Linked DNA regions of Homo sapiens: regions 1, 2, 3, 5, 6 and 7 are each linked to region 4. Evidence: promoter capture Hi-C in 16 types of primary human blood cells and fetal thymus (Javierre and others, 2016). All regions are on one chromosome and are shown on one strand. The core of a region is centred on a gene start or on the middle of the fragment in contact, and the rest is flanking DNA. Distances in the headings are between cores, read along the strand shown. Region 1 overlaps TRAK1 (trafficking kinesin protein 1). Region 2 has its middle 64 kb from the start of TRAK1. Region 3 overlaps TRAK1 (trafficking kinesin protein 1). Region 4 holds the start of ZNF621 (zinc finger protein 621). Region 5 overlaps TRAK1 (trafficking kinesin protein 1). Region 6 overlaps ULK4 (unc-51 like kinase 4). Region 7 has its middle 2.4 kb from the start of TRAK1.

Region 1 (4,182 bases), core at 1,415-3,914, 1.6 Mb after region 4:
GGGGGAGGGATGTGGGCCTTGAACTCTGGCAGCTGCTCAGGCTACCTTGAAAGCCTTACAGAGTCTAATCATAAACATTGGGTAGAAATGTTTTTGGACAACAGAAAGCAAGTCTAAGAAATCAATTATTTGGGCTGGGCGCAGTGCCTTATGCCTGTAATCCCAGCACTTTGGGAGGCCAAGGCGGGCGGATCATGAGGTCAGGAGATTGAGATCATCGTGGCCAACATGAGGAAACCCGTCTCTACTAAAATACGAAAATTAGCCTGGCGTGGTGGTGCGTGCCTGTAGTCCCAGTTACTTGGGAGGCTGAGGCAGGGGAATTGCTTGAACCCAGGAGGCGGAGGTTGCAGTGAGCCAAGATTGTGCCACTGCACTCCAGCCTGGTGACAGAGCAAGACTCCGTTTCAAAAAAGAAAAAAAAAAAAAAGAAATTAATTATTTATAAACAAGAAACTTCATCTGAACTCCCAGATTAGAACAGTAAAACCCAAGAGGTTGGAGGGAGATGGGTGAGATTAAGTGCAAAAAGATTATTCTATTTTTGCTGTGGATAATTAGGAAAATACAGGTTAACCTCTTAGCCTGTAACCTCTTGGTCTGTTAACCTCTTTGCCTGTACAGATAGTACCTTTAAAGGTAACTATCTGTATCAGTAAGGATTAAGTTTGGCTGTATAGAACAGTGGCTTCACATTATAGAATTTATTTTTCTCTAAAGTATAAGAAGTTCAGAGGGAGACTGTGCAGTACTGGTGCAGCCCTGCTGTCCCCAGGGTTCCATGCTCTTCCTGTCCTTCAGTTCTACCATACTAGATGTCGTTTCCATCCTTAAGGTCATGTCACATCTAAGAAGGCTGCGGAAGCTCCAGCCATCATGTCTGAATTCCAGGATGTAGGGAAGGCAGCCTTTGAGAAAGGCTCTCACACCAGTGCTTTTATCTCATTGGCCAACACTTAGCCTTGTAGTCTCATTTTGCAGCAGGGGAGGCTAAGAAATGTAGTTTTTCCATGGGGCTCAGAGCTTTGATACTAAGAAGAGTATGGATAGCGGATGGCCACCATGTGTCTACCATGTCTCCTTGACTATAATTAAAAATATGATGCAGGCTGGGGGCAGTGGCTCAAGCCTGTAATCCCAGCACTTTGGGAGGCCAAGTGAAGTGAATCCCTTGAGCTAGGAGTTCAAGACCAGCCTGGGCAACATGGGGAAACCCCATCTTTACTAAAAATACAAAAAATTAGCCAAGTGTGGTGCTGCCTGCCTGTAGTCCTAGCTACTTGGGAAGCTGAGGTGGGAAAATCATCTGAGCCCAGGAAGTTGAGGCTGCAGTGAGCTGTGATCGTACCACTGCACTCCAGCGTGGGTGACAGGAGTGAGACCCTGCCTTTAAAAAAAAAAAAAAAAAAAAAAGATTCAAACATTCAACATTAGCATTCCCTAACCTAACCCACATCATGACCCTGACAAGAAAACAATGGTATTTGCATAGCATGATGGGTAAATGATGGAAGTAGTTCTTAGCTGATGGTCACCCCGGACACTACCTGGCACCCTCCATTCCCAGCACTGCTTGTGGAAGCTCTGTTCTAAATCACTAGGAGAAAAAAGAATCTGGTGGCACATACTCTACAATGCAAAAGACAGCAAAGTGATGAAACCTCCAGAAGTTGAACCACCAAGAGGCATGACAATAGTAAGATGAGTCTTGCCCAATTTGACCATAATGCTCCTGTTTGAAGGCAAAGTCTCAGAATGGGTCAAAAAGTGAAGCTTTATCTATGTGCTTTGCTTAAGAAATTCTCAAAGTATGCAAAAGACTGGAAGTTGGGCTAGGAGAAAATTTAGAGAAAGAAGAGTTATAAGGAGGGATTATTTAATCAGTGAGGTCAGGATCTTTGGGGCCAGGGGCAGGCGTGAGTGGTGGTTAGGATTTTGACCTCCGAGTTCAGGCTCTGTTAGAAAACCGGTTCACTATTTACAGGCTATGTGATGTGGGTCTAGGTATTCAACTTCTCTGTGCTGTAGTGTATTCATTCTTATGTCAAACGGGGATAAATGTTAGGACTCTTAGGAGGATTAAATGAGTTAATGGATGTAAATGCTTATAAGTGCTTATGGTACCACTCCATAAGTGTTTACCATTATTACTGATGTGTTTGTTATCATTATAAGAAAGTGCAACTGGATCCCTGCATAACTCCATCAAACCCAATAAAATCCAGATGGTTCAAAAGGTGATTCAAAGATGTAATGTTGGCTGCTACCCTAGGCACACTGCCTGTGAATTAGCCCTGCTCAGCAAACAGCAGTTAAAATAAAATAGAAAGAAAAGATATAATGTTAAAAATTCAACTGTGAAAGTGCTAGAGGAAAATATTGCTGGATATTTTACTAATCTTGAGATGGGAAAGTCCATCCTAAACATGGTATAAAGGCTAGAACTATAAGGAAAATGACTGATCGCTTTGAGTGTGCAAAATTAAACTTTACACAGGCATTCTTTAACTGTGTATTTGTTCCTGAAAACATTGTGTGTGTTCATGCACACGTATGTTTATTGTGGCACTATTCACAATAGCAAAGACTTGGAACCAACCCAAATGCCCATCAATGATAGACTGGATTAAGAAAATGTGGCACATATACACCATGCAATACTATGCCACCATAGAAAAGGATGAGTTCATGTCCTTTGTAGGGACATGGATGAAGCTGGAAACCATCATTCTCAGCAAACTGTCCCAAGGACAGAAAACCAAACACCGCATTTTCTCACTTACAGGCGGGAATTGAACTGTGAGAACACTTGGACACAGGATGGGGAACATCACACACCGGGGCCTGTCATGGGGTAGGGGTGGCGGGGGGGATGGCATTAGGAGATATACCTAATATAAATGATGAGTTAATGGGTGCAGCACACCAACATGGCACATGTATACATATGTAGCAAACCTGCACGTTGTGCACATGTACCCTAGAACTTAAAGTATATATATATATATATATATATATATATATATATATAAACTTTGTGTGTGTTGCAAAATTGGACACTAAAAATACCAGGAGTAATGCAACTTTGTAACCAGAACACTTATAAAAACTGTCCATGTGGGGATAACTTGAATAGCCCAGACGGGCAGTTCCCGGCTGTGGCTGGAGCCACACAAACAATAGAGGGAAAGGCTGTGGGGTGTGTATGTGTGTGTGTTGAGGGGTGGGGGTTGATGGATCTGGGGCTTCTGCTAAGGTGAGCACAGGAGAAAATACAGCCCCCTGTAAGCTGAGAGCCATGCAAGGCTGAGGTGCTCCTCTCTGGGGATGGAGTCCTACACACAGAGCTTTTTAAGTTCCTATGAAGTAGTCCTGAAAGGGTTCCTCCTGCCTTTGCAGCATAAGAGCTGAAGGGCTTTTTTCCCATTGAGGGTTGTAAACATTCACACTATTCTGACTTCCCTTGCCCAATTCAGCTTCATGTGTTGAATTTTGTTGTCCTGGCTGAGCCCCTTGCCTTTTATAGGTGGGGTGTGAGCTTTGCCATTTGACAACCAAGCTTTTTGTGGCCCAGGAGGGAGTAGAGGAGTAGAAGACAGAAAAGCAAGTCTTGCCTTGTGTATTTTTGTGACCAGGAGAAAGGCATCATTTTGGCAAAAGCCCCAGGTCTCCCACAGGTGTTCAGTGAAGGTCCTGGCCGCTCTGCTCAGTGTTTGTGAGGGTCGATTTTCCCAGCGCAGGGCACTGCAGGTGCTTGTGAAGAACCAGATGGCTGCTCATTCCATCCTGCAGCATTTATTCAGTGTCTGCTCTGGCCCTGAGCAGACCCTGTCTTTGCCCTCTTGGAGCTGTGTAGTCCAATGACAGAGACTGCTGGTAATCAATCACTAAATCAGTGACTACAAATTGTGATGGGTGGAAAATGCCAGGGGCCAAGGGGGTAACTTAGCCCACCTATCTAGGGAGGTGGCCCTGAAGAAGTCAGTCCATCTGGGATCAGAGGGCAAAGGGGTGGTTGGCAGAGAAGGGAAAAGTGTTCCAGACAGAAGGTCCAGAAGGAGTTGTGAACCCAGAAAATCTGAGACGGTGAAAAAAGATTTGACCTAACTGACTCCATCTTGCTCTTAACCTCCAAGCTGTCCTTATTCATTCCTGGACACAGGTAGAACCAACTTTGGGAGG
Region 2 (3,772 bases), core at 424-2,923, 1.5 Mb after region 4:
AATGTCCATAAGACCTGTAGTGATGTCCCCATATTTTATTTCTGGTATTTGCCTTTCATGTTAAGAATGTGTCTGTTCAAAGGGAGAGGGGAAGGAGAAAAGAAGAATGTGTCTGTTCAAAGGACTGCTGGATCAGGGTAACTTAGCTCAAGAAAATGAGAAGGGGTGGTTTCTGGAAGGGGAGAATGAAAGCCGTGGAGGAAATAAAGCATGAATGTGGGGGAGGGCGGGGGCGGGGACTGCTTCTCTTGCTGGCTGCCTTCTCTCTCTGGAGAATCTGCTGGAGAAGGAGCAGTCACGTGGGTGGTGAGCTCATTAGGCTGGGGACACCAGCTGTGCTATTATTAGGGCTTTTAAAGTCCGTGGCAGATGTTCTTAGGCGGTGTTCCAGCCTTGTTCACTTCCCACATATGGCATGATACTGTACACAGAAAAAAGAGGGACTCTTTAACAAATAGCTTTTCCATGAAATGCATCACTATTTTTTTCCCATGAACTTTTTTCTTTTCTTTCTTCCTCTGTCTCTGTTTCTTTGTTTCTCTCTCTGCTGTTTGTTCTTTCTTCTTTCTCCGTTTATCTTTCTCCCTCTGTCTCTTTCTTGCTTTCCTCTATTTTTCTGTATTCTCATTCTCCCTGTCTCTCCCTCCATCCCTCCTTTCTATACTTCCTTCTTTTGTCCTTTGAGGCCCTTTTTATTTAATCCTTTGTGAAACTAGAAGAGGACTCAGAGGCACATGAAGAAAGTTTGTCTATTTTAGATTAAAAGTGAGCCTTAGCATTTCATAGAAAGTATAAGAAATGTGGGTAAGTCTCAGGGTGATCATATACTAGAGAATTTTTTTGACAAGAGCCTGTTTTGAATTGCGTGGTTAGCTTGCTGCCTCTTCACTCCTCTGGCACAGTGGTAGTTTTTGTACAGGATCGCTTTTACCTCAATGGACTGATAAGCTAGCCAGGGCACCGATTATTTTTACATACCAATTTGTGTGTTGTTTGTTTGGCTAATCACCTCTTCTGCAGCTGTTATCCTGGATCTCAGTGATCAAAGAGATCAGTGATCTCTTTTTTTTTTTTTTTTTTGAGACAGAGTCTCACTCTGTTGCCCAGGCTAGAGTGCAGTGGCATGATCTCAGCTCACTGCAACCTCTGCCTCCCAGGTTCAAGTGATTCTCCTGCCTCAGCCTCCCGAGTAGCTGAGACTACAGGCACGTGCCACCACGCCTGGCTAATTTTTGTATTTTTAGTAGAGATGGAATTTCACCATGTTGGCCAGGCTGGTCTTGAACTCCCGACCTCAGGTGATCTGCCTGCCTCGGCCTCCCAAAGTGCTGGGATTACAGGCGTGAGCCACTGCGCCTGGCCAGTGATCAACTTTTGTCAGTAAGCTTCCATGTGTAGACCCTCCTTCTCCCCTCATATTTATAGTAACCCATGTCTTAGCTTGGAGTTATAGGGTATAATCAATATCAAATTTACTTAAATAACTGCTCTGGTAGACTGACTTTCTACAGGAAATGGGCTCTTATGTGAATGTAACCTCAATGTATACTCTTTAATAAAATCTCAGAATGATGCAAGCTTCATTATAGTTGTTTCCTACTGTTTATTTCAAATTTGATATTTTGATATATTTACACTAATTTTATAGCTAAGCACAAAATTAATTACCCCATCATTTTTATTTCAAAAATAATGAGATAATATGTGCATACATTAGTGGCATATCTTACTCTAATAATGGCCACAACTGTCAGAAGTACATTTTCAGAAAAGCTTTTTGGCCGGGCGTGGTGGCTCACGCCTGTAATCCCAGCACTTTGGGAGGCCGAGACGGGCGGATCACGAGGTCAGGAGATCGAGACCATCTTGGCTAACATAGTGAAACCCCGTCTCTACTAAAAATACAAAAAATTAGCCAGGTGTGGTGGCGGGCACCTATAGTCCCAGCTACTCGGGAGGCTGAGGCAGGAGAATGGCGTTAACCCGGGAGGTGGAGCTTGCAGTGAGCCCAGATCACGCCACTGCCCTCTAGCCTGGGAGACAGAGCAAGACTCCATCTGAAAAAAAAAAAAAGTAAAGCTTTTCTAATCCAGGCGTTTTTCTTCAAAATAAAGTAAATATATCTATTTTCAAAAAGTACTTTTGTATTTTAAACATTATTTAGTTGTAGAAAATATTTTTTAAAAAGCCCCAAACCTAAACTATACAGTGAGGCCAGTATGAGAATAGAGGTACTGAAATGGGTAACTAATTATTTATTAATATGTTTATTTCCCTGCGAATTCAGAGACTGGGAAAGAAAACCAGGAACAACCATTTTTCACTTCTCTAATTTTATCTGAAGGAGGGGAATCATAAAGTAGGAAGCCTTTTATCTCAATGGCAGACTCTGTTATTTTTTTTTGAGATGGAGTTTCGCTCTCGTTGCCCAGGTTGGAGTGCAGTGGTGCGATCTTGGCTCACTGCAACCTCCGCCTCCTGAGTTCAAGCCATTCTTGTGCCTTAGCCTCCTGAGTAGCTGGGATTATAGGCGCCAGCTATCATGCCCAGCTGATTTTTTGTATTTTTAGTAGAGACGGGGTTTCATCATGTTGGCCAGGCTGGTCTCAAACTCCCGACCTCAGGTGATCCACCTGCCTTGGCCTCCCAAAGTGCTGGGATTACAGGCATGAGCCACCACCCCCGGCCACAGCCTCTGTTCTTACAAACTAGTGGATACAGGTGCCGGAACACCAGGCCGTGGGCCACGTGTTTACATGCTGCTCCCCAGTAGAGTTGCTGAGTGGTTTATGTTTATTCCGGAAATACATGGTTCACTCTGATTTTACAGGTCTTCCGCAGGTAAGAATCACCTTTGATTAGAGTCAGGGGATTCCTGGCAGAATGGGGAGCTGGAGACCCACTTAGATCAGTGATTGCTAAGTGTGAGCTGTGTGGCTTCCCTGGGCCAGGCACTGAGTTATGACAGTAAATGAGACAGTCCAGGTCTGGGGGCAGACCAAAGAGACCCAATGTAGTAATAGATGTAGGATATGATACCAGGTAGTGACTAGGGGAGAGAATGAGGTGGCAGCAGAGGTGTCTTTAGGGAGGTTATAGGTGAGCAGAGATTGAATGGGGATTGAGCCATGGGAACATATGGAGGAAAAGCTTCCCAGGCAGAGCAAACAGCAAGTGCAGAGGCCTTGGTGAGAAGGCCAGTGTGGCTGCAGTGCAGGGGACCCTGGGGATAGTGGACGTGGATGAAGCCAGGAGATAGTCAGGGGACGGCTGCATCCCACTGGCCTGCTGGCTGTTGTAAGGAGTGGGTATTTTAATCTGCATATGATTGGGAACTACTGGAGGATTCTGAGTATGGAGGAAGCTGCAGGGGAGTGACAAGAATTGATTGATTTTTAGATGATTTATTTATGAGACGGTATGTTAGTCTATTCTCACATGGCTATAAATAAATACCTAGGATTGGGTAATTTACAAAGAAAAGGTTTGATTGGCTCATGGTTCTACAGCCTGCACAGGAAGCATGGTGCTGGCATCTACTTGGCTTCTAGGGAGGCCTCAGGAAACTTACAATCATGGTGGAAGGCAAAGGGGGAGCCAGCACTTCACTTGGCTGGAGCAGGAGGAAGAGAAAAGATAGAGGTGCTACACACTTTTAAACAGTACCAAGGGGGATGGTGTTAAACCATAAGAAACCACCCCCATGATCCAATCACCTCCCACCAGGCCCCACCTCCAGCATTGGGGATTACAATTCAACATGAGATTTGGG
Region 3 (3,855 bases), core at 1,320-3,819, 1.7 Mb after region 4:
AATCCAACAGCCTCAATGCTTGTCAATCTAAATTGCCTTGCACCCCCTCCCCCATTGCTGCACACTGGAGCCAAAATGCTTCTGAAATATAAACCTTATTGCATAACCCCCCTTCAAAAACTCTCTAGTGGTTTTCCATTTAATTCCACCCTTCTTAAAGCTACTTGTCAGGCTTCGAACCCCCTGAGCCCCATCCTCCAGGCTGCCCTGTTTTCTGTGTGCCCCAGGAGGGCAGGTGTCCTGCCTTGTTCAGTGCAGAGCTTGGTGCGTGGTAATGGTTGTTTGGTGTTAGTCAGAGGTGAGGCGTGTGTATTTTACTATGGTGGGTAGGCAGCAAGTTGCATTTAACTTCTTTTTCTAGGAGATGGACCATAATTTTCTTATATTAAATTATCATAGAGACTGAGCACGGTGGGTCATGCCTGTAATGCCAGCACTTTGGGAGGCCGAGGCAGGTGGATCACCTGAGGTCAGGAGTTCGAGACCAGCCTGGCCAACCTGGTGAAACCCCATCTCTACTAAAAATACACTAATTAGCTGGGCATAGTGGCAGGCACCTGTAATCCCAGCTACTTGGGAGGCTGAGGTGGGAGAATCGCTTGAACCAGGGAGGCCGAGGTTGCAGTGAGCCAAGATTGCGCCATGGTACTCCAGCCTGGGCGACAGAGCGAGACTCTGTCTCTAACAAAAGAAAAAAAAATTATCGTAGAGGTTTATGGTGGCTCCTTTATTTTGCTTTTCTTTCTTTTTTGAAACATCTTTTGGGTGGAAGTGGATTTATTTGGTAGCACTCCTTGGGTCAGAAATGGAACTTCTCTTTGAAATACATTCTTATAGAGAGAGAAACTTGACCACGGTTGATTGAAGATTTAGTGCCTAGGAAGTTGGTATTTGAAAAGCATAACCTGTGTTTATGCTGTCTGAAGGCATGGTTTATTATTTTTTCACCTTCATTGGTCTCACTCTTGCTTCCTTATTTCTTGGAACAGGAAATCTAAAACCTAGAAGTTAGTTGGTGGCTGCTCAGAGCCCCTTGGCTTGGATAGAGTCTCCTGAGAAAACCTAAGCCTCTGAACCCAAGGTCAGGGTTCTTTCTTTCCCCTAGGCCCAAATGCTGCTCGCTCTGTTTACACACTTCCTACACATCGATGGTTTGTGCCTTGCTCTCGTGTCCTTTATGGTCTTCCGTTTTAGTACAGGAGCCAGACTGGCCTCGGTGCAGTCTCTGCAATGCAGCCTCATTCTCTGTGACCTCAGTGGGGTCCTTAACATCCAGATTCTTAATGTCTCAGAGCCTCAGTTTTCTTATCTGTGGAGTAGTCATCGCGACTACCCTGCAGGGTTGTTGTGAAGATTAATTGAGAAAGCATGTTAAATCCCTTGACATGATAGGGGCACCATCGGTGTTAGCTGCTACCTCTACCGAGAGTCTGTTATTTTGACATTTGCCACCTGCTAGCTGTGTGACATTGGGTGAGTTATTCAGCGTCTCTGGGCCTTAGTTTTCTGTTGTAAAATGGTGTTAATATAAGTGCTTACCCCTTATAGTATTGCTCTGAAGATTACATAAAATAATCCATATAGAGGGTTATGAATGGTGCCTGGCCATGGTCACTGTGCTTAGTAAAGGTCAGCTCACTGCAACCTCCACCTCCCGGGTCCAAGCAATTCTCCTGCCTCAGCCTCCCAAGTTAGGATTACAGGCATCTGCCACCACGGCTGGCTAATTTTTGTGTTTTTAGTAGAGACAGGTGTGCATTTTATTGGGTTCAATTTTTAAAATATTTTAAAGCTTTATAAAATAGCAACACAAGGGGTCCTTGTAAGTGGTAGATACATGAACCAACACAGGTAATAAAATTACATAGAGCTTAATACACACATGTGCACACAAATAAGTGCAAGTAAAACGGGAACTCTGAGGAAAAGTTATGGATTGTATCAGTGCTGATATCCTGGTTGGGATATTATGATCTTGCAGAATGTTACCATTGGGGGAACTGGATAAAGGGTATACAGGATCCCTCTGTATTATTTCTTCAAGATGGAGTCCTGCCCTGCTGCCCAGGCTGGAGTGCAGTGGCACGACTTCTGCCTCCCGGGTTCAAGTGATTCTCCTGCCTCAGCCTCCCGAGTAGCTGGGACTACAGGTGTGTGCCACCACACCTGGCTAATTTTTGTGTGTATATATATATATACACACAAAATTTTTATATATATGCAAAATTATATATATACAAAAATATATATAAAATTTTATATATATACAAAAATTTTTTTTTTAGTGGAGACAGGGTTTTGCCATGTTGCCCAGGCTAGTCTCGAATTTCTAACCTCAAGTGGTCCATCTGCCTTGGCCTCGCAAAGTGCTGGGATAACAGCCATTAGCCACCTCACCCGGCCCCCTCTGTGTTATTTCTTCTGTCTGCTTGTGGTTATCTACACATGACTGACTATCTGAATAATTACAGTTACCTTAATTCAAAAACTTAGCCTTAAAAATTTGAGTATTATCTCTAAATAATATAGTGTTAGAGAAATAGCAGCTCTGAATCTTCTTGTACAGATAATAGAGCCAGGTTAGTTAAAAGGTAGCCCAGTTTTCTTTTTTTCCAGGAAGGCAGAGGACTCAGTTTTTTGAGGAGAGTGGGCGCCGGTGAGTGGGGATAAGCAGGCCCTCAAGTGACAACACAAATTTAAACACAGAGACCACTTAGTTGCTGTGGTCTGTTACCTGGTGTATAAAGGGTGCTGCAGATGCTTTGGCGTGCTGGCTGGGGGGCCCCAGGGTTTGTATCTGCACGCCTGCAGACCATCACAGCTGTGCGTGAAGAAGACTAACTCGGGTTGGTAGCATAGGAGTCTTCACTTAAGCACTTGTGTGACCTCGAGCTGATGGACTATCTAGAGCAATTTGAGCTGGACTTCATCTACATCAAATTAGATCCTGGTTTAAAGCTACCCTTATAAATCTCCCTTGCTTCTCCCTCCCTGGCAGCTCTGTCTGAGGCAGCATATTTCCCCCCACGCTTGGACAGGAGGGATCTCATGAAAGTGTTGGGTGGAGGGGTCTTGTCTGCTGGCTCTGGTGGCACTGTCTTGGTAGGGTTTCAGATTTAGAACCAGATTTCAGGTCTCCTCCCTAAGTTAGAAAATCATTCCAACAGATCCGATTTCTCTGAGCTAATTTACTAGGATGATCTCTACTTGCATTTAATAAAATATTCAGAGACCTATTGAATTCCAGTTGCTGTTTGCCATTTGTAATGCTGCTGAGTTTGACTTAGTAATACACTTCAATTCCCAAATGTGTCGCATGGGCTGTTACTGAATGTGGGTCATTAGGAAAGCTTTGACTCTTAACAGAATTATTCACTGAAGTCTTAGTTACAAAACATTACTAAGAAGTTATTTATTTAGTCCCAAAGTGACAGGTTTCAAAAAATTTTGCACGTTGGCTGGCCATAAATCCATTTATATTCACTCCTCCCCCAATAGAATAAAACTTACGCTACCTTCTTGGTGTTTGTTGAGCGGCGAATCAGTTCCTTGTCACTGATTTAAAATAAAACAACCCTGATGTATCTTTAGCAGACAAAAGCGTTCTTTTGTTTCACAACCCATTTCTCCAACGGAAGAAGAACAAAGACCCATAGTCCTAAAGTGCTTGTGTGCAGCCTTGTATGACCACAGTAAATTGTACATGTAATGAAATATTACTCTGTGTGTGTGTGTGTGCAATCATAGTAGTCTTTTTAATGTATATTTAAAAAATAACAACCTAGTTTTCATGGTATGGAGCTGGTTGCATAACCTTAGAATGTAGGCCACTTGAGGAGGAGGGGGCTATGCCAT
Region 4 (3,893 bases), core at 1,291-3,790:
TGATGATAGTATATTGAGGAAATGACAGAGTGTGACTTCCAAAGCTAGGACATAAATGATATTGCCACTTCTGCCTTGACCTCTTGGGTTACTCACCTGAGATGGAAGTGGAAGTCTGCTCCTGTGTTGTGAGGATACTCAGCCATGTACAGATACGCGGTGTGCGAAGGGAGGCTTCTTTTTCTTTTCTTTTCTTTTTTTTTTGAGACAGTCTTGCTCTATATCCTGGGCTGGAGTGCAGTGGCGGGATCTTGGCTCACTGCAACCTCCGCCTCCTGGGTTCAAGTGATTCTCCTACCTCAGCCTCCCAAGTAGCTGGGGTTACAGGTGCCCGCCACCACGCCCAGCTAATTTTTGTATTTTTAGTAGAGACAGGGTTTCGCCATGTTGGCCAGGGTGGCCTCAAACTCCTGACCTCAGGTGATCTGCCTGCCTTGGCCTCCCAAATTGCTGGGATTACAGGTCTGAGCCACTGCACCCGGCGCAGGAAGGGAAGTTTCACACTAATAGCTGGCATCTATGTGCCAACCATGTGAGTGAGTTACCTTTGAGGCAAATCCCCAGCCTCAGTCCAACTTTCAAGTGACTGCAGTCCCAGGTGACACCTGACTAGACCCTCATGAGAGATCCCAAGCCAGTACCATCCAGCCAAGCCACTCCCGAATTCCTCATCCACAGAACCTTTTTTTTTTTTCCTTTTTCTCTTTTTAGGACTGACTGACTATGTTCACTGATTCATAGAAACTTTAAGAGATAATAAGTGTGTTTTGTTTTCAGCCATAAGGTTTTAGGGTGATTTGTTATGCAGCAGTAGATACCTAAGATACTCTCCATAATAGGACTTCATAAGTCAGTCTAATTCTTAAGAAAGGAATAACAAATCCAAGAAGTGGGACCCCTGTAATAAAGCAATATATCTAGATATCCAGGATCATTTTTTATCTTTTAGTGGTGGGAGACCAATTCCCCTTTATAGCATGGAAATGCTTGGTGGTGAGGAGCCTGGTATCTGGAACTGTGTTCAGGAGAAGTTATCAGCGTGATTAAAGTAAAACAAAGTCTGGGCCGGGCGCGGTGGCTCACGCCTGTAATCCCCAGCACTTTGGGAGGCCGAGGTGCACGGATCACAAGGTCAGGAGATCGACACCATCCTGGCTAACACGGTGAAAACCCGTCTCTACTAAAAATACAAAAAATTAGCTGGGCGTGGTGGCGGGGTGCCTGTAGTCCCAGCTACTCGGGAGGCTGAGGAAGGAGAATGGCGTGAACCCAGAAGGCAGAGCTTGCAGTGAGCCGAGATTGCGCCATTGCACTCCAGCCTGGGCGACAGAGCGAGACTCCGTCTCAAAAAAACAAACAAACAAAAAACAAGCAAAAAAAAAAAAAACAAAGTCTGTCCATCTTAGCAACCACTTTGATACTGGAGAAAGGCTCCTGTCCAGAAGGAAGGGCACAGTAGTGAGGTACTTGCCAATGAGCTGGGTAGAGCTGCCACTGGCTGGCTTCGGGAAGTGTTTATCACTGACTGGCTCATGTTCAGAAGCTTGGAGTGAGGCTGTTGTGTACTGGTTGATTTTCAGAGTACGTGTACTGATCTAAAATTATGTAAATTAATGGCAAGTACTTGTTAGTGACTTGGGACTTTGGTCAAAAAACAGTCTTTTCCTTTCCTGAATATGAAAAGTAAGTTCTTTTAATTAGCAGCCTCCCCTCTTCACTGTTTTTTCTTCCTGCAGTCCAACTAACAGAACAGACCATAAAGGTCTGTCCAGATCATTATTTATGGAAGTATGAGATATATATATTTCAGCTGGTGTTAACATTTTATTTAAGTGCCAGTTACTGAGCAGAAAAATAGCTGTAACTACGAGTTTTTGTAATTTATTGGAAAAAGCTAAATATAAGACATTTAGGGTGTCCTCCCAAAGTCAACACAGGACAAGATCATTTAATATAGGACATGTCCTGTGTATACAGGATGCCTAGCAACTGTATGTAGCCACGGGTGTTTTGGTTGTTAAATGAATCTGTCCTAAAAGGTTCTACGCACATCTAGGTCCTTGGAAGGGAGAGGGCTAAAACGGCGAGTGGAAACCATGGTTTCCCTGAGGACTGCCCAGCTGAGGACCCAAGCAAGATCCTGGGCTTGGGCCTCTTAGAGATGACAAAGCAGGCGCCATTCTCCCCTCACCTGCACGGCCCAGGCTTCAGGTGAGCCACGGGGCCAAGGCGGCCAACAGCTGAGGCGCAGCCCGTGAACTGGGGGCCCACTTGTGCCTAGAGGGCGAGGTCTCGGTAGAGCCAGGCTGTATCAGTCCGTGACACTCCAGCCAGAGGCGATGCCGACGGCTGCCGGAGAAAGCCGGGCTTAGAGCGCCACAGTTCCACGCCCGCCGCCGGCCTCTCAGCCCAGCCGGTCGCCGCAACCTCGCCTCTTCCGCAGGGCGGGGCCAGCCATGAAAGGCGGGGCGGGTCTGGCCACGGGGCGACCGAGATGGCGGCCTCCGGGGGCCTAGAGGGACCCTGGGCGTGCACTCGCCCTTCCGGCTCGGCCTTTAGTTAGTGACCAGCTCCTCGGCGTTCTGCAGAGCGTGGGTTTCAGCGAGTTCTACGTGCCAGGTCCGCCCGGTGCCGGCTTCCTCGCTGCCCCTGGCGGCTCGTCAGCCCCCACTACCCCTGAACTTGGTCCCAATGGCGGCCCGCCCCTCCTTCACCCGGACCGTGGGCATCTGGGCCTCGCCGAAGCCGTCAAGGTGGCTGCTCGGGCTTCTAGAGCCCGTGTCCAGCCCTTTGCCACCGAGGCCTGATCCTCTTTTCTGCCCTAAAGAACTTGCCCTGACAGCCTCTGGCTCCCGGTACTGACGTTTCTGATGTTTGGGGTTGCCTGTTTTCTTGGGTGGAGTGTTAAGATCACGGTTGGGTGGGGTCTCCGGTCAGCATCACCCACTGGGACGCTGAGTATTTTACCCTTAATCCGCATTCAGCCACCCCAGTCCCTCTTCTCCTGAGGTTCTTTCTTTTGGGTCCACGTCATCGTCCCTGTAAGCATTCTGTAAAGACTCTTTACGTTTGTAGAGACCCAACACAATAGGGACAGGGCTCTTGGGTCCCTCAGTTTACCCGTACGAATGGGCTCAAAAAAAGCTCTTCGGACTGAGCAGGCAGGTGGAAGATTGTCCTGAAGACTAGGCAGAACAATTCATAAGAAGTTTGGGGCTATCAGCGTGAGAACAATTAGAGGGAGTCCTAGTAGAATCTCCGTGCATCCAGTGCTGGAAATGTGGAAACTGGGAGGGCCATAGGTTGCTGTAGGTGGTGGACGACAGGGTCCTTAGCACTCATGGCTCTTTTTCTCTTAGCTCTTGAGGATCTTGCTTGTCCAAACCCAGAAGACAGTGCATGAAGCCAGGGGACATCCGCCATGCTCCAAACAACTTGGCCTCAGGTGAGCTGAGCTTCTTTCAGTTTTTTTGTTTGTTTGTTTATGTTTTTTTACTCACATTAGCTATCAGATAATCAGGAAAGGATGAGGAAGGCCTAACTTGGCCAAGCTGTGTTTTCCCCTTTGTATCTATCTCCAGGGCTATGGCAGATGTAAATATGTGCTGGGGAAATGAAAGTTTTGTGTATAGAGAGTGATGAGTTTGGATGTATAGATTTAAATGGAAGAAAGGGGACCTATACCAAGAAATTCTTTCTGAATGTGGAAATCCAGATCGTGTTCTAGAAATGAAAGTCACCTACTGAAATCAGACTCATTTTTTGTGAGACGGAGTCTCACTCTGTCGCCCAAGCTGGAGTGTAGTGGCACTATGATATCGGCTCACTGCAGCCTCTGCCTCCTGGGTTCAAGTGATTCCCATACCTCAGCCTCCTAAGTAGCTGGGATTACA
Region 5 (3,994 bases), core at 644-3,143, 1.7 Mb after region 4:
ATGATACAGATTCTTTTGATTCCATTTTGTAGTTCTCTGACTTCTTAGCTGTTTATTTATGTATTTAGTTTTTGAAACAGGGTCTCGCTGTGTCACCCAGGCTGCAGTACAGTAGTGTGATCATAGCTCACTACATGCCTGAATTCCTGGGCTCAAGCAATCCTCCCGCCTCAGCTTCCCAAGTAGCTAGGACTACAGGACTGCACCACCACACCTGGCTAATTTATTTATTTGTAGAGACAGGGTCTTACTATGTTGCCTAGGCCGGTCTTGAACCATTGCCCTCAAGTTACCCTTCCACCTCAGCCTCCCAAAGTGTTAGGATTACAGGCATGAGTCACCACACCTGGCTCAGACTTCTTAGCTGTTACAACCAGTATTTTCTTTTTTCCCTCCCCTCCACAGTTATTTTTTGTGTTACCATGTTTAATATGATAAGATGGGATGCTGACACAGAAGTCAGCCTGGGCTAGGTTCAGTACAGCTCTGACTGTGACATTAGATAAATCACCCCACTTTTTGAGCCCTGTTTCCTATTTAGTTGTGGTTGTGAAATAGGCTGATAGCCATCAGACCAGACTGTGGTGAGGAGTAAATGTGAAGTATTTTATATTGTACCTGGCATCTAATAGGTGCTTATTAAAATGTTGGCTTCCCAAGCTTGCTCCAATCCAGGTCTGTAGGGCTGAGTTACTAGTATTGAGATCTGGACCAGCACTAGGGTCATGTTCTTAAATTATCTTTTTCTATTGGCCCACTGAGAAGCTAGTAAGATTCCCATAATCACCAGCAGCCCAGGTAAATGTACCTGGGGTGAGGTCCCTAGAGACTGTTGGCTGAGATCATAGCAGATAGCCAATCAGTGTTTTCCATCTGGCTCCGTTACCTGTTGAATTAATCTTGCCATCTGCTTATTGTGAAAGCCAAAAAGCTAAGTGTTTAAGAGTGCTAGCACTTTCTTGTCTCTTCATCTTACCTTACCAGTTTTAAGCAGGTGAAGAACAAACAAACCATTCAAACTAGAAAGATATCTGTGTTAAAAAGACCAAGGCGGGCAGTATTTTTTTCCTGTAATTTGCACTTCCTTTCTGCTTAATCATAACCAAGGTAGCATTTCCAAATAAATAATATGTAAATAAGGGAAAGGATACACTTCAAAGCTGTACATTATCCAGCAGGTTTCATTCTAGTATCTAAGCCCTGATGCTCCTCTGACATCAGTGGATTTTGGGGTTTCCTCTCCTTTGATGACTTGAAAATGTTTTAGCTGGAACACTGGGGTATGGAAGGAAAGCAGAGGGGGAAGGACGCAATGACCATAGTCATGTTTTCCCCACTGTCCGTGCCCTTTTCCCATAGAACTTTATCTTGGGGCCAACCAGGAACATGAAGTTTCCTCTCTTTCCTTGCCCTGTTTGCCTAATTCCTGCCTGGTTTTAATGTGGGTGGGAGGAGTGAGCAGGTCTTGAGTTGGTAATGGGAGGTAGCTCATATTACAGTGTTTGGCAAGTAAAGGAAGCCAGGCTGGGGAATGAGCTGGAGAAATGGAAAGAAAGAGGTAACTTGGGCTCTGAATAAGATGCAATTCATATTTATTTTTTAATTCTTATACCTTCTTATGTCAAAGGAAGGACTCCAGGCAGCCAGGGGATTGGTAGAATTCCCACATGATGGTTTAGGCAGCAGCAGGGAGGTGAAGCATGAGGTGTTCTGCCCAGTTGATGGGTTTGGCAAACCCCGCTGGGACTTTGGAACCAGCCAGAAGTGGAGATAGTCCATGAGCCCCATAGCATGACATAACTGAAATAGCACAGTCAGGTTTGAGAAAGCACCCACATGAGAATCTAGAAAGCCATTCAGTTGTGTTATTGACTAGGTTTCGGAGGCTCTCATGTGTAAGGCCTGTCACTGCTGAGAGTTAAGAGAATGGACACTGGAGCCAGCCTTGGTTTCAGTCCCAGATCAGTCAAGCCACTTGCCAGCTCTGTAGCCTCTAGCAAGTTACTTTCCCTTCCCGTACTCAAGTTTCCTCATCTGCAGAATGCAGACAGCAGGGATAACGTGAAGATTAAGTGAATTATAAATGTAGACCTCAGAAAAGTGTCTGGCGCTTAGTAAAAGCCCAGTAAAAGTTGGCTGTTCTTACATGGGTGTTCTTACATCCCAAGGCATGGGATAAAAATCTGAGCATGATGCGTCTTTTCACATAATGTTTTAGTTGTAATTTCACTAAATTTCCTTGGCTGTGGAGTGTCAGAGAATGCAAGTAATTCCATGCATTTCTGTGGCATCCTTAACTCCAAACAGCAGACCCTTTGTAGCCTCATTTCTTTCTCTTCAGCCCATCCTTGGGAGCGGGTGAGGAGAGGGAGTGATGGGGCAGCCTGTTGAACAGTTGGAGGAGAAAGGCCTATGAGACTCTTGTCAGGGCCCAGACCTCCAGCCTCCCTGGGTTCTTTCCCAGTGAATTGTAAACATCTCAGACCCCCTTCAGAAGGATGAGGAGGTTGGCATTTCCTTACCAGGGTTCTTCACTTCCCAGAGTCTATTGGCATACCCCCCTTTTCCCTTCCAAAAGTAGAGGTGACGTGGCCATATTGTACATGGGGTTTTCTCATCATCCTTCTCAGACTCCAGTGTACAGTCCCAAACTGAACATGGCAGTACAGTGGCTACTTTAAGACTTCTCGTGGTGCTATTTTGTTATCAGGAATGTGCCTGCACAGCCAGTGAGCATTTGTACTGGGGCCCATTAGGTAGTGTGAATGGGAGTCCGCAGGGACAGCAGAGAACTCCTATCAGCAGGAATATCTCCTGGCAGGCCCTGGACACCCATCTGGAAATTCTGCTGCTGACCATTTGTGCAGCTGGGACACTGATGTCCTTCTTGTTCTCAGACCTGTGGGTTTTGATGGGTGGGCAGTGAACCCATCAAATGGGTTAGTTCTGAACCCCGGCTATGCCACCACTAATTAAGTGGCTTTGGAAAGTTATCTAACTTCAGGCAGCCACCATTCCCCTATCTGTAAAGTATATAATCATACTCAGTTCCTAGGATGGTTTCAAGGAGTGAGCTGATATAATACATGTAAAACAAACTGCGATGCAGGCCTGCCTCAATATAGGGAAGCTTAATTTAAAAAATCACAGTGATGCTGTGGCATCTGGGACTCGGGAGCCCACGAACTGGTCTCTGCAGGTCTGCGAAGCCCCGGCGTTGTTTGCACAGTGTTGCTAGCATGCACACTTCCTTTAGGAAGTGGGTCCACAGCTTCCTTCAGATTCTCGAAACATCTGAGAGTTAAGAACCACAGCTCTAGAGAAAGGCTTCTCAATCCCAGCCCTGCTGACATTTGGGACCAGTTTGTTCTTTGTTGTGGGGGCTGTCCTGTACATTGTGGGATGTTTGGCAGCATCTCTGGCTTTTACCCCCTAGATGCCATTAGCACCAGATGCCGTTCGTCCACAGCTGTGACAACCAAACGTGTCTCCAGACATTACCAAATGTCCCTGGGGGAGTGGGGTACGGGGCGCAAAATTGTCCCTAGTTGAGAACACCGCTCTAGATGCATCTTAGCACCTAGTGAGAGAACGGATATGTGATACCCTCTTTCGTTATAGTCATTCTTATTTCTTTTTTTCTTGAATTTAGAATATTTTCTATTTATATTTAATAGATCCAAATTAAGTATGTTGCTATTGTACCCGTGAACCCTTAAAACTGGGATAAGCCTTGATGTGGGTGTCTGGGAACTCTTTAAACATGTATTGGCAGTGTGCACCTTTTTTTTCCTTTTGAGTGGATTTGAAATTGTTCATTTATAAATCCCTTTCAAGCCTCCCTGGCTGAGATCGACACATGAGAAGTTATTTCCAAGGGGTGTTTGGAAATGGCAGACTCTGCGCACACCATGCGGCCTCTCCCTCACCCCACCGCCTCCCACCTCGGCCTGCCTGTGTTCCCTTCTCTTTTGTCTTGACTTCCTGAGCTGCC
Region 6 (3,630 bases), core at 306-2,805, 1.4 Mb after region 4:
AAAAAGTACATACCATAGGAACCCATTTACTTGAGGTTCAAGAACAGGCAAAATAATCTACAATGATAGAAGTAAGAACAGTGCTGGGGGCAGTGTTGAAGATGACATCTGGAGAGGGCAGGAGGCACTTTCTGGAGGAATAGACAGACTGTTTCTTGATTTGGATATTACATGACTGCATACGTTTGTTAAAAGTCATTGAACTACACACTACACTACTCGGGTGTGCCTTAAGACCCCAAAGATCCCCTAATCACACTAACACCTGCACTAAATATTCCTTATTCTCTTGGAATCCAGTACATTTCCCAATAGTACTTGTTCTACTTGGAAAGGCATCAGTTTACCAACGTAGTGAAATTTTCCCTGGGGTTGTGCTATCCACCCTTATATCCAGCATTTGTAGTGTGTGTCACAAGTTGTATTCTCATGGTGAGATAGTTTCTCTGTTGTGATCAGGTTTCCATGTTGCGGTCAAAGGGCCAAGAGATTTAATTGGGTTAAGTTTTACAGGAGAGGGTGGCATTTGTTCTGGATCCTGATAAGCCTAAAAAGTATCACAAAGCTTCTTGTCTGAAAATTTCTCCCACAGTGGCCCTACTGTGGTCTTTGAAAAATCTCTATTAGTCACCCCCCTGAATTAAGCCTTTGACGGACTCCAAAATGCTATCAAAATATGATCACAGAAGGGGATGATACTTCAAGGAAAATGAATTTGTTACATTATCCAGCAGTGTCCTAAAATGAAGGAACAAGAGGGCTGGGCGCAGTGGCTCATGCCTGTAATCCCAGCACTTTGGGAGGCCGAGGCGGGAGGATCACAAGGTCGGGAGATCGAGACCATCCTGGCTAAAACGGTGAAACCCCGTCTCTACTAAAAATACAAAAAATTAGCCGGGCATAGTCCCAGCTACTCGGGAGGCTCAGGCAGGAGAATGGCGTGAACCCAGGAGACGGAGCTTGCGGTGAGCCGAGACTGTGCCACTGCACTCCAGCCCGGGCGACAGAGCGAGACAGGTAAATTATGACACCTGAAAGTGTGGTTATGAAAAGGTCAAAAGCAAGGGAAAGTACTGAGGAGGACTGTCAACGCGACAGCTGAGAACAGCCAGTGGGGAGCATGATGGTAAATGCTATATGGAGAAGAGGAGAAAAAAGGCCATGAAGTCAAACTCTTCCTTACATGTAATTATTTTCTCGGCTTACCCTGCTGGCCTCCTCAACTGGAGAGGGGGCATTGGTACCATGATCCAACAGATCTGAACCAACTATAGATCAGGATGATACTGACATCATAGGCAATTGTGAGAAGTGAATGCACCCAGCACACTGGCTGGAACATATTAGATATACTCAATAAATGGTAGCATATGATGAACTTCTGCAAAGGAAAAGAGTAGAAATGCTTCTGCAAGGTATGGGACACAGGAGTTTCCAAGAGCTAAGACCCCTAAAAAGCAGGGACTTGGACAACCATTTGAATGGAGTGTTTATACATGCCTTGATTCCTCTATCTCACCTTTCTTACCAGATCATAAGCTCAAAAGTACAGGATCATTTCGCCCTCTAACACAGCAGACACTCAACAATACGCTTTTGGTGTTGAAGTGAGTGAATGAATCTTGGAAAAAAGAGAGGCTTCCCCAGGCTCTATAAATCAGGAATAAGGCAAACAGAAAACAGTGGCCTTTCTATATCCATTAAAACTCTTGCACATGCTGAACCTGCCCTCATCCTTCTTTCCCACACGTGACCGACCCCACATCCCTCTTCTCAACTCTCTTCCAGTTCTGGGTATTTCCCTCTCCATCTATGTGTTCTCTATGTATTTCTTGTTCCATTAGTGACTGTGACGTAAGAGACATCATGAAAGAATATTTAAGCCAGGCGCAGTGGCTCATACCTGTAATCCCGGCATTTCGGGAGGTCGAGGTGGGCGGATCACTTGAGGTCAGGAGTTTGAGGGCAGCCTGGCCAACATGGTGAAACCCCATCTCTACTAAAAATACAAAGATTCACTGGGCATGGTAATGTGCACCTGTAATCCCAGCAACTCAGGAGGCTGGGGCAGGAGAATCGCTTGAACAGGGGAGGCAGAGGTTGCAGTGAGCCAAGATCGCACCACTGCACTCCAGCCTGGACGAAAGAGTCTGGACTCTGTCTCAAAAAAAAGAAAGAGTGTTTATTAAGTGTCAGGCACTATGCTAAATATCTTATTATCTTAGTAAAAGCTAGATATGTCAACAAAATGCAAGCAAATTGAATTCAGCAGTATATTAAAAGGATTATGCACGATAACCAAGTGGGTTTATTCCTGGAAAACAAAAGATGGTTGAACATACGAAAATGTAATATACCACATTATGAAGGGGAAAAAAACGCATGATCATCTCAATTAATACAGAAAATGCACTTGGCAAAATTCAACAACCTTTAAAAAAAAAAAAAAAACTCCAAAAGCTAGGAATAGAAGGAAACTATCTCAACATAATAAAAGTCATATATGAAAAACCCAAAGCAAACAACATACTCAATGGTGAAAGAGTAAAGCTTTTCCTCTAACATTAAGAAGTAGGCAAGAATGTCTGCTTTCTCCACTTCTAGTCAAGAAGGTATAAAAAGTCCTAGCCAGAGCAATTACACAAGAAAAAAAAAGGCATCCAAATTGGAAAGGAAAAAAGTAAAATTAACTCTGTTTGCAAATGATGTGATTGATTTTATATGTAGAAAACCCTAAGGCCAGGCGTGGTGGTTCAGGCCCGTAATCCCAGCACTTTTGGAGGCCAAGGTGGGCAAATCACCTGAGGTCAGGAGTTCGAGACCAGCCTGGCCAACATGGTGAAACCCCGTCTCTACTAAAAATACAAAAAAATTAGCCAGGCGTGGTGGCAGGCACCTGAAATCGCAGCTACTCGGGAGGCTGAGGCAGGAGAATCGTTTGAACCTGGGAGGCAAAGGTTGCAGTGTGCCAAGATCACACCACTGAACTCCTGCCTGGATAGACTTTGAGACTCTGTCACACACACAGACACACACACACACACACACAAAAAGTAAAGTTTCCATAAAATAAACTGTCAAAACAAAAACAAATTTTGCAAAGTAAAATACAAAGTCCAGGTCCAACACTTAAAGATTAGCGGAATTTTTTTTTTTTTTTTTGAGACAGCATTTCACTCTTGTTGCCCAGGCTGGAGCGCAATTACACGATCTCAGCTCACTGCAACCTCTGCCTTCCAGGTTCATGCGATTCTCCTGCCTCAGCCTCCCAAGTAGCTGGGATTACAGATGCCCACCACCACACCTGGCTAATTTTTATATTTTTAGTAGAGACAGGGTTTCACCATGTTGGCCAGGCTGGTCTCGAACTCCTGACCTCAAGTGATCTGCCCCCTCCTCGGCCACTCAAAGTGCTGGGATTACAAGTGTGAGCCACCACACCTGCCTTTTTTTTTTTCTTTCTTTTTTTTTGAGACAGTGTCTCTGTCGCCCAGGCGGGAGTGCAGTGGCATGATCGCGGCTCACTGCAACCTCGACCTCCAGGGCTGAAGCAATCCTCCTGTCTCAACCTCCCAAGTAGCTGAGAGTAAAGCACACACCACTATGCCTGGCTAATTTTTCTATTTTTTC
Region 7 (4,110 bases), core at 1,314-3,813, 1.6 Mb after region 4:
AGCCATGTGCTCCACATTTTGGTCAATATTGATTAGTTGAATGGAACTTTGCTGCAGTTATTTTATTGAAACTAAGCAATGTGATTGGAGATGCCTTGACTTGAGAGAAACGCGTTTCAGAATTCGCAGTCTGAACGCACGTCATCCCGGGGCCCTCATTTTCTAAAGATTGTCCAGGTTTATCGATAGACTCTAACTGTGCCCCTCTCTTTCAATTGTCCCATAGATTCCCTATAAGGAGCCCCTGCTGGTGCACCAGAACTACCGGGGGCCATCTGCCCAACTGCCCCAGACTCTGGCAGTGGGGCCCCCGATGGCAGTGGGCACCTCCCCGTGAAACCTGCCAAGCTGGACGCCACAGCTCTGCACGACGACACTTTGGCCAACTCCGTGCCCCCTTCGGAGGCATGCAACCATGCAGTCCTAGCCTGCAGCCTGGGCATCCCTGAGGAACACTACATAAGCGAGGCTGTGGAAGATGCTCCCAGCTACAGAGGGTACCGGGATGCCTGCACCATTACTGGTATGGGGGCCCTTTCCCTGCCAGGGAGGAAGGGAGGGAGGTTTCAGTCACTGAGGACTAGGGAAGGAATGCAGCCACATGGGAGGGTCTTGGGGAGGTATGTGGAGAGGAACCACCAAAGTGCAAAAGACTCTGAGCTTTCGGATTGTGAGACCTCCAATCCAGAACCTGTTCTGCCAGTGAACCATTTTGTAACTTGTGTCAGTTGTTGACCTACTATCCTGACTGAGAGGTAGACAGCATTTCACTAAATTGTCATGAAGGTTAAAGATGGTAACATCCAAACCTGAGCAGCAAGCATGGCCCATCACAGGCACTCAGTGTATTGAACCCTTCCTTCTCTCTTTGCACTCAGCTTCTTCAGATATAAGACAGGTGTAGTGGGAATAACATGCACTGTCATTGTGGGATGCAAAAACAGAAAACTACATGGAGTGCCCTTTGTACACCATCAGGATTTGCACAGACATGGATTTTTACAGATACCTGTGTCAGTCATAACTCTCAGTGTCCCAGGTGGTAATCACCTAACATCTGTGCGGGCACTTAGTAGTAGAGCTATTGCTTTTTTATTTTCCCCAAGGAAGCATTGAGACAAGTGCTTGAAGCTAGCACAAGAGAGGGCTCTCAATGGAAATGGTGTAGGATGGTGTGCATAACAGCAGCAAGTGGCAAAATTATAGCTCAATCCAGTTGCATTCATATAGAAGTTTGCTTAATTTCTCATTTTTGTCTGCAGTGTTTGCTTTTGTTTGTCTGTTTGAAGTAATGCCTGATGACAGCTTAATATATGCAAGTTGGCTTCCAGTAGCTTCTCTTGGTTCTGTGTTACCAGTTAAGCCTTGAGGACCTCCTGTGTGTCAGGGGTTTCCTGGATACAGAAAGGCACAGAGAAAGCCGGGGGTCCCAGCCTGGTGCCTAGCTGCTGTGCTAGGCCCCCACACACCTCCTCTCCCTTTTTGTTAAGTGGCCCACATGTGTTGTCCTCCGCTTGTGACTGAGTCCCTCTCCCACTTGCCTGCCCCCTGAAGGACACAGTTCCAACATCTCCCTTTTCTCTACTGCATCATTCTTTTCCCCTTGCACTTGGGTCTTTCTTATTAGTGCAGAAACATGCTATGATCTCCCTCTTCGGAAATAGAATCCTTCTCAGTCCCGTGTTTCCCGCAGGCCAGTGTCTCTGCTCTTCTGTTTGCTTACTCTAGTTTTTCTTTTGTTCTCTCTGGAGTCCACTGCAGGCAGGCTCATGCCCCACCACACTGACAGCCTGGTTCAGTCCAGGGGTCTGTCCTCTGCCTTCACCTTACTTCACTTTTCAGTGGTAGTTCACACTGTTGCCAAGTCCTGTGTCCTGGAAGTACAGTCTTTACTTGGCTTCTGGGTCCCCACACTCTCCCTGTTCTTCTGCCTCAGTGGCTGCGTTTCTTCTTCTCCCAAGCCTGGGAACGTTGAAGGGCCCGGGGCCCAGCCTTTCCGCCTCTTTGCTCTTATGTGTGCACCTGTGCAGCACTTGATCTCACCCAGCACACAGGTTTTAAAATCGCCTTCTGTACTGGCCACTCGGTGGTTTCTGTACTCAGCCTGGCCCTTCCTCCTTAAGGCCAGATGTCTCAGACTGACTCCACATGAGTTTCCACTTAGATGTCTAACAGGCATGTCAAACTCAAATGACCAAAAATGAGCTCCTGGTTTCCACCTGCACCTGCTTTTCTTAGGGTTTTCCCCATCCTTGTAAATGGTGCTTTCATTATTCTAGTTGCTCAGGCCAAGAACCTTGGAGGCATTTGTGATTCTGCCTTTCTGCGATTCATACCCCAGTTTGTCAAGAATTCTGTTGGCTGTATCTTCAGAGTATGTTCAGAATCTACCCAGCATTTACTGTGTCCCAGCCACCCCCATCTCACACCTGGATGACCGCACTGGCCTTCCAGTGGGGCCTCTTACTGCTACCCTTGCCTCCCTAAAATTCTTTCTCCGCTCAACCATGAGAGTTGGCTTTTAATACAATCAGATGGTTTAACTCTCCTCCAAACTTCCAGTGAGCTCCCCTTCTATAGAGACCTGTAAGGAAGGGGCTGAATGACAGGAATCCCTCTTTGCCCCGCTGACCTGCCTCCTCTGTGCCCTCCGTGCTCCAGGTACACTGGCCGCCTCACTTAACCTTGAACTCACCAGGCACATCCAGCCTCAGGGTCTTTGGATTGCCTTAACTCCAGATATCCTTATGACCCCCTCTTCCTTCTCCAAGTGACATTTTATTTGATGCTTTTTGTGACCCCCCCCCAATACAGAGTGATCTGCCTCACCTTTCCCCATCTCCCTTTCCTGTTTAATTTTTTCCCCCAAACTTAACCATCTGCTGAACTACTGTATTTGTGTTTTGTCTCCCAAACTTGCAGTAGACTAAAGTCGCGGAGGGCAAACTCTGTGTCTACTTTGCACACTCCTGAATCCAGTGACTAACGTAGTGCCTGCCTGTGGCCAGCGCTCAGTGAACATTTGTTGGGTGTATCAATTGTGTCAATTTGTGCAGTGAGTACTATTATCCTCTTTGTGTAAGTGAAGAGTCTAAATCTCGAAAGGTTCAGCACCTTGGTGAAACTCCTGAGTGGCAGGAGTTGCATCCAGGTCTGTAGGACCCCAGGGCAAGGGTTCTTTGCTGCCTAAGAATTTAGTCTAGTTGGGGAGACAGATGAGTGAGTAGAAATTGGCTGTACACCGAGGTTAGCACAATGATAAGCACAGCACAGTAGGGCACCAAGGAGGGTGCCAGGCTGAACCTTGGAGGGGAAAGGACAGGAGAAGACCACGAGGGCTTTGTGGAGGAGGCGATGACCCAACCGCATCTACATTTGTCCAAACACATGAATTGATCCTTGGGATTCTAGTGGCATCTGTACCAGTGAAATCCAGGAAGCATCCAGCCTGTTAAAGTGCTTTCACTTTCTTTGAATGTGACAGTGGAGGGTAAAGAAATGGCAGAATGTACCGCTGAAACTTCACAGCTGGGCGTGGTGGCTCACGCCTATGATCCCAGCACTTTGGGAGGCCGAGGCGGGCAGATCACCTGAGGTCAGGAGTTCAAGACCAGCCTGGCCAACATGGTGAAACCCCGTCTCTACTAAAAATATAAAAACTAGCCAGGCATGGTGACGGACGCCTGTAATCTCAGCTACTTGGGAGGCTGAGGCAGAATTGCTTGAACCTAGGAGATGGAGGTTGCAGTGAGCTGACACAGTGCTACTGTACTCTAGCCTTGGCGACAGAGTGAGACTCTCTCAAAAAAACAAAACGAAACAGCAACAACAAAAAACACAACAAAGAAGTGGCAGAATGTAGTGCTGAAACTTCAAACCCTATAGGATGTGGTGACTTGGGGGTTCTTTGTTGGGACCAGAGGAAAGCTGAGAAACAGCTCGGTGCTGTTGTGTTTAGCACTGGCTTGGTAAACAGGAGAGTAAACACAGACACTCTTATGCGTTTAAGGGATGGGCTGTCAGGTGATGGAGAACATGCTCGGATTAAAGTTTTATTAGGCAGTCATTGAAAGGAAGACATTAAATGGAAAAAAGTTCTCCGAGAGACCT

Evidence for each region. Contacts are between HindIII fragments. The CHiCAGO score rates a contact against its expected background, and 5 or more counts as called.
Region 1: a fragment that was not itself captured here is called in contact with the fragment with the promoter of ZNF621 in region 4 in 1 of 17 cell types (total CD8 T cells); the score reaches 7.5 in total CD8 T cells.
Region 2: a contact is called between a fragment that was not itself captured here and the fragment with the promoter of ZNF621 in region 4, in 3 of 17 cell types (total CD8 T cells, naive CD8 T cells and total CD4 T cells). The highest score is 6.4, in total CD8 T cells.
Region 3: a contact is called between a fragment that was not itself captured here and the fragment with the promoter of ZNF621 in region 4, in 1 of 17 cell types (total CD4 T cells). The highest score is 5.2, in total CD4 T cells.
Region 5: a contact is called between a fragment that was not itself captured here and the fragment with the promoter of ZNF621 in region 4, in 1 of 17 cell types (total B cells). The highest score is 5.8, in total B cells.
Region 6: a fragment that was not itself captured here is called in contact with the fragment with the promoter of ZNF621 in region 4 in 5 of 17 cell types (non-activated CD4 T cells, total CD4 T cells, activated CD4 T cells and 2 more); the score reaches 9.3 in non-activated CD4 T cells.
Region 7: a contact is called between a fragment that was not itself captured here and the fragment with the promoter of ZNF621 in region 4, in 1 of 17 cell types (total CD4 T cells). The highest score is 6.1, in total CD4 T cells.

Annotation. Positions count from the first base shown.
Region 1 is chr3:42,107,102-42,111,283 of GRCh38, forward strand. All of the region lies in intron 1 of TRAK1 (trafficking kinesin protein 1), which reads left to right. LOC124906231 (a long non-coding RNA gene) reads left to right here. Exons shown (of 2, transcript XR_007095889.1): 2 at 1-2,241. Among named protein-coding and RNA genes, the nearest start is that of TRAK1, 18 kb to the left of the region's middle. The HindIII fragment of the contact is 1,786 bases long and covers 1,772-3,557 here.
Region 2 is chr3:42,025,463-42,029,234 of GRCh38, forward strand. It overlaps a transcript of TRAK1 not described here. Among named protein-coding and RNA genes, the nearest start is that of TRAK1, 64 kb to the right of the region's middle. The HindIII fragment of the contact is 195 bases long and covers 1,577-1,771 here.
Region 3 is chr3:42,172,464-42,176,318 of GRCh38, forward strand. All of the region lies in intron 2 of TRAK1 (trafficking kinesin protein 1), which reads left to right. Among named protein-coding and RNA genes, the nearest start is that of TRAK1, 83 kb to the left of the region's middle. The HindIII fragment of the contact is 1,558 bases long and covers 1,791-3,348 here.
Region 4 is chr3:40,522,420-40,526,312 of GRCh38, forward strand. It overlaps ZNF621 (zinc finger protein 621), which reads left to right and starts at 2,541. Exons shown (of 5, transcript NM_198484.5): 1 at 2,541-2,855; 2 at 3,360-3,445. The coding sequence starts at 3,422. RefSeq lists enhancers at 2,143-2,232, 2,511-3,323, 2,883-3,022 and a silencer at 2,423-2,582. The HindIII fragment of the contact is 8,303 bases long and covers 1,542-3,893 here.
Region 5 is chr3:42,204,530-42,208,523 of GRCh38, forward strand. All of the region lies in intron 13 of TRAK1 (trafficking kinesin protein 1), which reads left to right. Among named protein-coding and RNA genes, the nearest start is that of CCK, 60 kb to the right of the region's middle. RefSeq lists enhancers at 1,600-1,679, 1,920-1,969. The HindIII fragment of the contact is 2,470 bases long and covers 659-3,128 here.
Region 6 is chr3:41,946,288-41,949,917 of GRCh38, forward strand. All of the region lies in intron 2 of ULK4 (unc-51 like kinase 4), which reads right to left. Among named protein-coding and RNA genes, the nearest start is that of ULK4, 14 kb to the right of the region's middle. The HindIII fragment of the contact is 1,985 bases long and covers 564-2,548 here.
Region 7 is chr3:42,086,878-42,090,987 of GRCh38, forward strand. It overlaps a transcript of TRAK1 not described here. Among named protein-coding and RNA genes, the nearest start is that of TRAK1, 2.4 kb to the right of the region's middle. The HindIII fragment of the contact is 9,137 bases long and covers 1-4,110 here.